Linked DNA regions of Homo sapiens: region 2 is linked to region 1. The links are contacts of gene promoters, found by promoter capture Hi-C in blood cells and fetal thymus (Javierre and others, 2016). All regions are on one chromosome and are shown on one strand. The core of a region is centred on a gene start or on the middle of the fragment in contact, and the rest is flanking DNA. Distances in the headings are between cores, read along the strand shown.

Region 1 (4,380 bases), core at 609-3,108:
TGGTTTTTATTTTGTGAAAAAAATTGAAAAGGTAATAGAATATACACTATATCTGATTTTTTACGTAAAAAATTTGGGGCAAGAATAATGAACCAAGACACACCATTTCCACCTTTAAAGATTTCAGTACAACACTGAAGAATCACCTACAAGCCATCCACGAATAAACAAAGGAGATCTCTGGCAGGGGAGGGAGAGGAAGAAGCGGGGGAAGGAGACGTCAGATCCTTCCCCAGCCAGAAAGTACCGAGACAGCCAACTGAGAGCAGAGCTGTCCTCCGACCTCAGCAAAGAGAATTCACTCCTACGATTATTTCCATTCCACAAGAGAGGGAGGGAAACAGATTGTTACCAACTCAATGATAGCAAAGTCTGCATCTGGATCAGGATGTTAATTCTCTAGACTACTGTCCAGTAGACTCTGCAAGAACAGGTTATCTAAAAAGTAACCGTTCTACTCAACATTTATTCCTAATGTTAAATATTAATCTCAACCCTAGTCAAAGTGCCTTACTGAACAATTAAGTCTTAAAAAATCTAAGTATGTTAACAAACTGCCTTTCCCGTTTCTTCCTTTAAAAAGTTCACTCCCCTTTTCGTTCTTTCCTTTTCACCTTCCTTTCGTCCCTCAAAATGGCTTTCTCTGTACATTTTAACTTCCTTTCCCCTCCATCTCCCTTATCCGAATAAGTCCTCTGAGACCCTTTTCACAACCCTGAGTTCTGAAGCTCCAAGCGCACACAGCGCTGTGTCCTCTCAAGCGTCTCCACAATGACTACCCTAAGTTATTAAACCTCTTCAATCCTCTGTCTTTTAGCAGTTGCTTTGCTCCTGCTAAGTTTTTAAAGCGGCACTCGAAAGAGGTTTGGAAACCATCCTCACTCATCCATCCAGCGCGCTCCAATCAGCCTCCCTCGCGGACCTGCCCCCCTCTCCCAGGGCCTCCATCCCGGTCCAGGAGTCCCTCTTCCCGCCTCAAACTTCCCGCAGACCCGCCCCGCGCCCTCCCAGGCTCGCCCGAGCCGCCGCCCCCTCCCCCTCCCGCCGCTCCCCACGTGCTGGGAGCCCGGGTCGCGGCAGGACCCACGCACCGGCTAAGTGCTAGCCATTCGCGGGTCTCCTCTCGCGGCCCGGTCGGCACCAAGCCGAAGAGGCCGGGGCAGGGCCGCCGGGCCGGCGCAAGGATGCGTTCTGCGGCCCCGGCCTGTACTCGCCGCTCACACGCCCCCTGCGCGCCAGGCCCGTACACCGCCACCGGCACTCACAGAGCCACCCGGCCTTCACCCGGCCGCTGGGCCGCCGCCTGGGCACCGCGCCGCGCCCGCCCTCCGCCCGGCCGGTTCCTGTCCTCTCCGCCACATCCTGACCCGCCCGCCGCCCCCTTTCTTACCGGCGGGCTTGGCGGGGCGGAGGGAGCCGACTCGGGTGGACGGCCTCCCCCGCGCCCAGGCCCGGGATCTCCGCCGCCCAGTCCTAGGGCTCCGGCGTCTCGGGGTAAGCAAGAGTCCGTGCGGGGGAGGGGGAAGGGGACAGACGCGGAGGGGAAGGGGAAGCCCCGGTCCGCAGCACCAACGCGCGATCCCCTGCGGAGTGGAGCTAACAATTCATTATTGAAGCACCAAGGGCGAGGGCAGCAAGAGCTATAAGTAACCAGTCGTCGCCGCCGCCGCCGCCGCCGTCGCGCGCGCGCTCCCGCTCCCTCCGCTTATCTGCCCCCGGCAGCCGCCATGACGCCGAGAAAGCAAGCGAGCGCAACCGTCTCCGTCGTAGCCGCCGCCGCCACCGAGGTCGCCGTCGCCTCCGCCTCCCGCGCGACGTAAGCGCCTCTGCTCACTCCCCTTCCCGACAGAGCGCGAGGCGGGCGGGCGCGCGCACGCCGAAGCCTTTCTGCTCGCGCGCGGGAGGCGGGAGGGACTACGTTGAAGGGTCGTGGGCGTAGGAAAAAAGCGATTGGTGCTGGGGCGGGGCGGGGGGGGCGAGTGCGCGCACGCGCACGAATGGGAGTGCGCACGGCGGATGCGCAGAGGCTGTCGGACTCTGACTGCGCGGAGACCGCTGGACTCTGGTCGCGGCCTTAGTCCGCTGATCCTCGCTTGGGTGCCCGCCCTTAGCGGCCCGGCGTTGAATTCCGGGAAGTGGGAGCTTCAGGCTCGCTCCGTGCGGGTATGGGCGCTAATGTCACTTGGGATGGTTGCGCAAGGACATCGCGGCGGACACTGACAAGGAACCGGGGAGGAACGGGGGTGGGGAGAGACTGCGATGGGACTCGGGAAGCCGGGAAGGGCCGCGCTGAATAAGCCTAAGGGGCCGGGTCGCAAGGAGTGTCGGGTAGCACAGGCCTCGGCTCAGTCGGAGCGCCAGGCCTCAGGGTCCGGGCGGGGGCTGCTGCGTCACACCAGGCAGCCTGGGAACGCAACTGTTGGGCAACCGTGGTGGCCTCTCGCCACCTCTTACGCTTGGGCGATCTGCGATTGACGCATCCTGGGAGCTGATGTCCCGCACGGGCGGGGCGCCGGAGGAGGAGAGAAAATAGAGACCCGGTTGTTGACAGCCTGTGATGCCGCTTGATTCATGTGTGGGTGGCCTGGTTTAGAAATGTACCACCCTTCCTTTCTAGGTTCCTCCCCGGAGGGCGGGGTGACGGGTGCGGCGCCGAATCGCAACAAAAAACGCTGCTCGAGGGATGTTAGTAACTGTCTCAGCTTAAGTTGCTGCCTTTTAGCTTACAGTTTGTATCGTAACTGTAATTGTGGATCTTAGTTAAATCCCTTCAGTGTGTTGGAAACATATTTTTAAGTGTATTTTTGAAACATACTTAGAGCATTTTGAAATGCTTTTTTGAAAGCGTTTTTTAAATCAAAATTCTGTTACACTTTATTTTTTTCAGTCTGCAGATGAACTTGACTCACTCAAGGTTAATGATTTTTGTTTTTTATTTATGTTTGTAGAGGCGGGGTTTTGTCATGTTGCTAGGTTGGTGTTGAACTCCTGAGCTCGAGCGATCCACCTGCCACTGCCTTCCAAAGTGCTGGAATTACAGGCGTGAGCCACGGCGCCCGGTGGCCGAGGTTAATAATAATTAAAAGTTTCTAATCCCATTGTTCAGTTATTTGATTTGGTGTAAAGGCGCACTTTCCAAGTCAGATGAGTTTGTGGTAACATACATTCCCCAAATAATTATTTTTCCCTTGTGGGAAATATTCCAGTTTTAGGCTACCAGCTGTTTAAACAGTTTGGTTCAAATCCTTCAAAAAAATCTCAAAACATAACTCCACATATGTATTTACTACATATTGAAGGGTGTATTCACTTGGAGAAGTAGGAGAAAGCAAACAGATGCCAATGGCCTTTTTGAAAACATGTATCTATCAGCAATAATTGAATAGCAAAACGAAGTGGAACACTACCATCCTTTGCAATATTAGATAGTTTTAATACTGGGTTGTGAGGAATGAAAAGATCATACAAATCGTCATTTCTGAAGTCATTTCTGAAGTCGTCATTTCTGAACTGAGTGCTAATTTTTCATATTAAGCTTTATGTTAATATCCTTAATGAGAGGAACTTCCTGTGCCCGTAATTTCTCCAGAGAAACTATTAACATACACAGAATGTTGTAATCAGAAGTATAGTTCAGTTAATAAAGTCCTCAATTACAACTCTGACATTTTGTCATTGTCTTATGAAAAGAATTACTGTATATACAGTCTATTTTACGTTTTCCGGAAGCACGTCAGGCAGGTTTTTTGTTTTTTTACTACTAATTGTGCCATTGAATATGCTATTCTGTCGTATTGTGCCATCAAACATGCTATTCGAAAAAAGATCTTGCCCAATTTGTAATAAAATATTGAACATTGGAGATTTAGATTTCGAGTAAAATCATACTTTATTGCTTTGCAGAAGTACACAGTAGGTGGAAAATTGCAACAATCTTGCCAGTTCATTTTTTAAAAAGCGTGTAGGTAATCCAAAGATACCTTTTTGATGATTTGTTATCAACATAGTTAAATTTGCAGTGTCACTTTATTTGAATAAACTAGCTTTATCTCTACTTAGTGGTACTAAAACAATAGCCAAACAGTTGATAATCTCAACACATGACTAACGAAAAATTCCACATAATTAACATTAACCAGGAGGTTTTTGTTACTATTTAATTTCTCATTTTTAAAATTTCATATTCTTTGGAAAGAATATTACTTTTCCGGAATCTAAGACAGCATTTTGTGGGTCCTTAATTGTGATATGCTTTACTAGGTAAAGTACTAAATGGGTATCCTTAGGTGGGGATAGGCTGGGAACCACATATCCAGAATTGTGAAATATATAACATAAACAGGATAACTTGCTCCTTTGTTAGCTTTTTGGATGCCAGGG
Region 2 (4,588 bases), core at 860-3,359, about 14 Mb after region 1:
TGAAAACATTAATCTCCTTCTAGATCTCCATCAGAAACTTAGATGTCTAGAGGTCTAGGTGCATTGTCAATGAGCAGTAATATTTTGAAAGGAATCTCTTTTTTTTTTCTCTGAGTAGTTGTTTTCAACAGTGGGCTTAAAAATATTCAGTAAAGGCTGGGTGCAGTGGCTCACGCCTGTAATCCCAGTACTTTGGGAGGCTGAGGCAAGAGGATTGCTTGACCCCATGAGTTCAAGACCAGCCCGGGCAACATAGCAAGACCTTGTCTCCACTAAAAATAAAAATAAAAATCAGCCAGGCATGGTGGCATGAGCCCATAGTCCCAGCTACTCAGGAGGCTTGTGTAGGAGGATTGCTTGAGTGTGGGAGGTCAAGGCTGCAGTGAGATGTGATAGGGCCACTGCATGCCAGCCTGGGTGACAGAGCGAGACTGTCTCAAAAAAATAGTTCAGTAAACCATGCTGTAAACAGATGTACTGTCATCCAGGCTTTGTTGTTCCATTTAGAGAACACAGGCAGAGTTGATTTAGCATCATTCTAGGGTCTCTAGGATTTTCTGCATGGTAAATGTCCATTGGCTTTAACTTAAAATCACCAACTGCATTGTTCCCTAACAAGATAATCAGCCTGTCCTTGGCAGCTTTGAAGCCAGGCATTGACTTCTTCTCTCAAAGAGACAAGGATTTTGGGTGCTACATCCTAGATGGCATCTTTTTCCAATAGAAGGCTGTTTTGTCTACATTGAAAAACCTGTTGTTTAGTGTAGCCACTAAATGGGGCAGCTCTGAAGCCAGACATTGACTTCTCTCAAAGGGACAAGGATTTTGGGTGCTACATCCTAGATGGTATCTTTTTCCAATAGAAGACTGTTTTGTCTACATTGAAAAATCTGTTGTTTAGTGTAGCCACTAAATGATACTAGCTAATCATTGATCATCGTCAATGATATTAGCTACATTTTCTGGATAACTTGCTGCAGCTTCTCTATCAGCACTTGCTGCTTCACCTTGCACTTTTATGTTATATGTTATGGAGATGGATTCTTTCTTAAACCTCCTGAACCACCCTCTACTAGCTTCCCACTTCTGAAGCTTCCTCACCTTTCTCAGCCTTCACAGAATTGAAGGGAGTTAGGGCCTTGCTCGGATTAGGCTTTGGGTTAAAGGAATGTTGTGACTGGTTTGAGCTTCTATCCAAACCCCTAAAACTTTCTCCATATCAGCAATAAGGTTGTTTTGCTTTCTGATCATTTGTGTGTTTATTGAAGTAATTTCCTTTTAATTCCTTCAAGAATTTTGTCTTTGTATTTACAACTTGGCTGTTAGGTGCCAAGAGGCCTAGCTTTCAGCCTATCTTGGCTTACATATGCCTTCCTCACTAAGCTTAATCATTTCCATCTTTTGACATGTGAGACGTGTGACTCTTCCTTTCACTTGAATACTTAGAGGCCATTGTAGGGTTACTAACTGGCCTAATTTCAACATTGTTGTGTTTCAGGGAATAGGGACTCCAGAAGAGGGAGAGAGATGGGAAATGGCCAGTTGGTCGAACAGTTAAAACATACACAACATTTATCCATTAAGTTCCCCATCTTATCTGGGCATGGTTCATGGTGCCCCAAAACATTATTATTATTTGAGACGGAGTCTTGCACTGTCGCCAGGCTGGAGTGCAGTGGTGTGATCTTGGCTCACTGCAACCTCCACCTCCTGGGTTCAAGAGATTCCCCTGCCTCCCGAGTAGCTGGGACTAAAGGCCTGTGCCACCATGCCTGGCTTATTTTTTATATTTTAGTAGAGATGGGGTTTCACCATGTTGGCCAAGATGGTGTCTATCTCCTGACCTCGTGATCCACCTGCCTCGGCCTCCCAAAGTGCTGGGATTACAGGCGTGAGCCACCGCACCCGGCCTTAAAACTATTACAATAGTAACAGCAAACATCACTGATCACCGATCACCATAACAGAAATAATGAAAAGGTTTGAAATATTGCAAAAATTACCAAATGTGACACAAAGTATACGCTGCTGGAAAAATGGCACCAAGCAACTTCTTTCAGGCGGATTTGCCAAAAACCTTCCATTTGTAAAAAGGCAGTATCTACTCGCAGCAGCAAGTGAAGTGCAATAATGAAGTATGCCTGTAGTGATGGCACATGGTATCCTTCAGAAGTTTTAAAAGGTGAATAGTTTTGTTTCGTTTTTCCTAGACGGAGTCTTGCTCTGTTACGCAGGCTGGAGTGCAGTGGTGTGATCTCAGCTCACTGCAACCTCCACCTCCTGGGTTCAAGTGATTCTCCTGTCTCAGCCTCCGAGTAGCTGGGATTACAGGCGTGTGCCACCACACTCGGCTAATTTTTGTATTTTTAGTACAGACGGGGTTTCAGCATGTTGGCCAGGCTGCTCTCCAACTCCTGACCTCATGATCCACCTGCCTCAGTCTCCCAAAGTGCTGGGATACAGGCGTGAGCCACCGCACCCGGCCTAAAAGGTGAATAGCTAAGTTTCTAACGCAGAGCACACTGAAACACAACGTCTATAACTTTGCTAGTTCTACCACTACAAAAATCCATTTTGCCAAACTGAAAGCAAGCTCTAGAGCCCAGGAACGGAGAAAAATTAAACGTAAGGAGTATTTCCTTCCCTGTCTAACATATATTTGCATCCTGAACCACACAGATTCCCCTCGTGGCACAGTCTTCGCCCCTTAACAGAGAGTAGCTAGTACCACCCATACTCGCTGAGAAACTGGAAACGAGGGAGGGTCGAAGTTAAACCCTTTTTAGTGGCGGTGCATGCGCCCCACATGGTCTTCCCGGCTTGGGAAAGGAATGAGAAGCTTTCATGATTCTCTCGCGAGAAGGGAAGTCTTCATGCCACGTCAGAGACTAGAGATCCTGGCGCCGAGCGACAGGTGCCGGAACAAACAGGCGATGAGAAATCGCGGACGCGGAACCATTTCTTGGGCAGGACTTCCGGCGGAAAAGCGGGCTGTCTCGGAAACTCAGAGCCGGGTTCCTCCCGGGTTTCTGCCGGGTTTCTCCCTGCGGCTCCTGGGTTGTTGAGACTCTTGTGAAGATGGCTTGCGCTGCCGCGCGGTCCCCGGCCGACCAGGACAGGTGGGTTCTGAGGCGGTGGGTCCTCCGAAAGGAAGGGGCTTGCTGTGGTGCTGCAGGTGCTACACCGCGCTTCTCCGCTCCGCGGCCTCCAGAATGGCCTAGCTGATCCAACTCGCTCTGTACGGGCCCCGCGCCTCTCCCTGGCAGCTCGTTTTTCTGAATCCTGCAGCAGCCACCAGGCTCTTCTCAGGGCTCCTGAAATTCCGACCATAGGTAGCCTAGTGTTTATCTGTACGCGAGACAAGGATTTTGGGTGCTACGTGGACATGATATCAAGTAATATAATCACAGTGTGAGAAATGTGTTCTTTTTAAGTATTGTTGCGTTCAGAAAGGCTCATTTGTGAAATTTTAAGGTTTTTAATACCTCGGACACTTTATATAAGAGGGCGGGCCCATTCTCAGGAACTTTTGACGGGCTGCTCTGTCTAATGTAACAGTTACCCAAGTCGTTTTGTTTCTATTCCTGTGGTTTTTTTCCATCCAAGGTAGTGGATAAAGTTTATTTTTAAATAAGTTAAAGTGAGGTAATTTAAAGAAATAACATTAAGCAAATAATAGCATAGGTGTACCAGCAATGATGACGACTACCACGGACCGAAAGAATGTATTTTTGAAAATACTTGTTATCTGTTGAGTGTAGTTGTCCAGGTTCTTGGCGTTTTGAATAAGGAATTGAACAAAACACACAAAGCAAGGCAGCGAAAGCAGATTTATTTTAAACAAAAGTACACTCCACAGGGTGGGAGCCGGCTCCAGCAAGCTACCCAAGAGCTGTTGGTTACAGAATTTTCTAGGGTTTAAATACCCTCTAGACGTTTCCCATTGACCTGTGCCAGTCTGATTGGTTGAGGGAGGGGGATCAATCAGAAAGAGGAGTAGGCCCGCGGCCAGTCTGATTAGTTGCTCGAGGGGACCACTCCGAGGTACTTTGATTTTTCAACTGCCACGCAGAAAAAGGAGGGGTTGAAAAGGGAGTACCCATCTGATATCTAGGCAGCATGAATTGGCCTTTGGTTCCCTGCCACCCGACCCTTTTCTCCTGCCTCTTACTGCTCTAGTGATACCACTTATGCTATTGTCTATGGCAGGTTTATTTGTATCTATCCTGCTTATTTAAATAATAAGAAGACCATCGCAGAGGGAAGGCGAATCCCCATAAGTAAGGTAAGCAAGATGGCTGGCACCTTGATCCTCGAGGGAATGGGGGGTGTCATCCTGGTCGGGCCACGTAATCTTGTTAGAGCCGCAGGGGGTTCTCTTCACTGCATTTATTTAGGGCTTGAGAACACAGCCAAGAATTGGGGTGCGTTCCTCAGTGTTGGTGAAACCAGAAAGGCATTAATTCATAGCTGAAGGGATATTTTTTTAACGTCTCTTAATGAGCCTTTGTTTGTAAAGGAGTGGGGGCAGAGTGTAGAGTTCACATGTTTTTAAAACAAAGGTTATGACGGTGTTTCCCTTGATATA

What was found. The method cuts DNA at HindIII sites, captures the fragments that hold promoters and counts their contacts. A CHiCAGO score of 5 or more calls a contact.
Region 2: a fragment that was not itself captured here is called in contact with the fragment with the promoter of CHD1 in region 1 in 1 of 17 cell types (total CD8 T cells); the score reaches 13.2 in total CD8 T cells.

What each region holds. Positions count from the first base shown.
Region 1 is chr5:98,927,149-98,931,528 of GRCh38, forward strand. CHD1 (chromodomain helicase DNA binding protein 1) reads right to left here and starts at 1,859. Exons shown (of 36, transcript NM_001270.4): 1 at 1,391-1,859. It overlaps CHD1-DT (CHD1 divergent transcript), which reads left to right and starts at 1,414. Exons shown (of 4, transcript NR_151718.1): 1 at 1,414-1,494. LOC100289230 (a long non-coding RNA gene) reads left to right here and starts at 1,986. Exons shown (of 1, transcript NR_036530.1): 1 at 1,986-3,861. RefSeq lists silencers at 1,003-1,632, 1,893-2,102 and enhancers at 1,876-2,774, 2,263-2,592. The HindIII fragment of the contact is 7,543 bases long and covers 1-3,533 here.
Region 2 is chr5:112,858,299-112,862,886 of GRCh38, forward strand. SRP19 (signal recognition particle 19) reads left to right here and starts at 2,989. Exons shown (of 5, transcript NM_003135.3): 1 at 2,989-3,119; 2 at 4,210-4,285. The coding sequence starts at 3,079. RefSeq lists enhancers at 2,754-3,048, 2,807-2,886, 2,987-3,286. The HindIII fragment of the contact is 1,456 bases long and covers 1,382-2,837 here.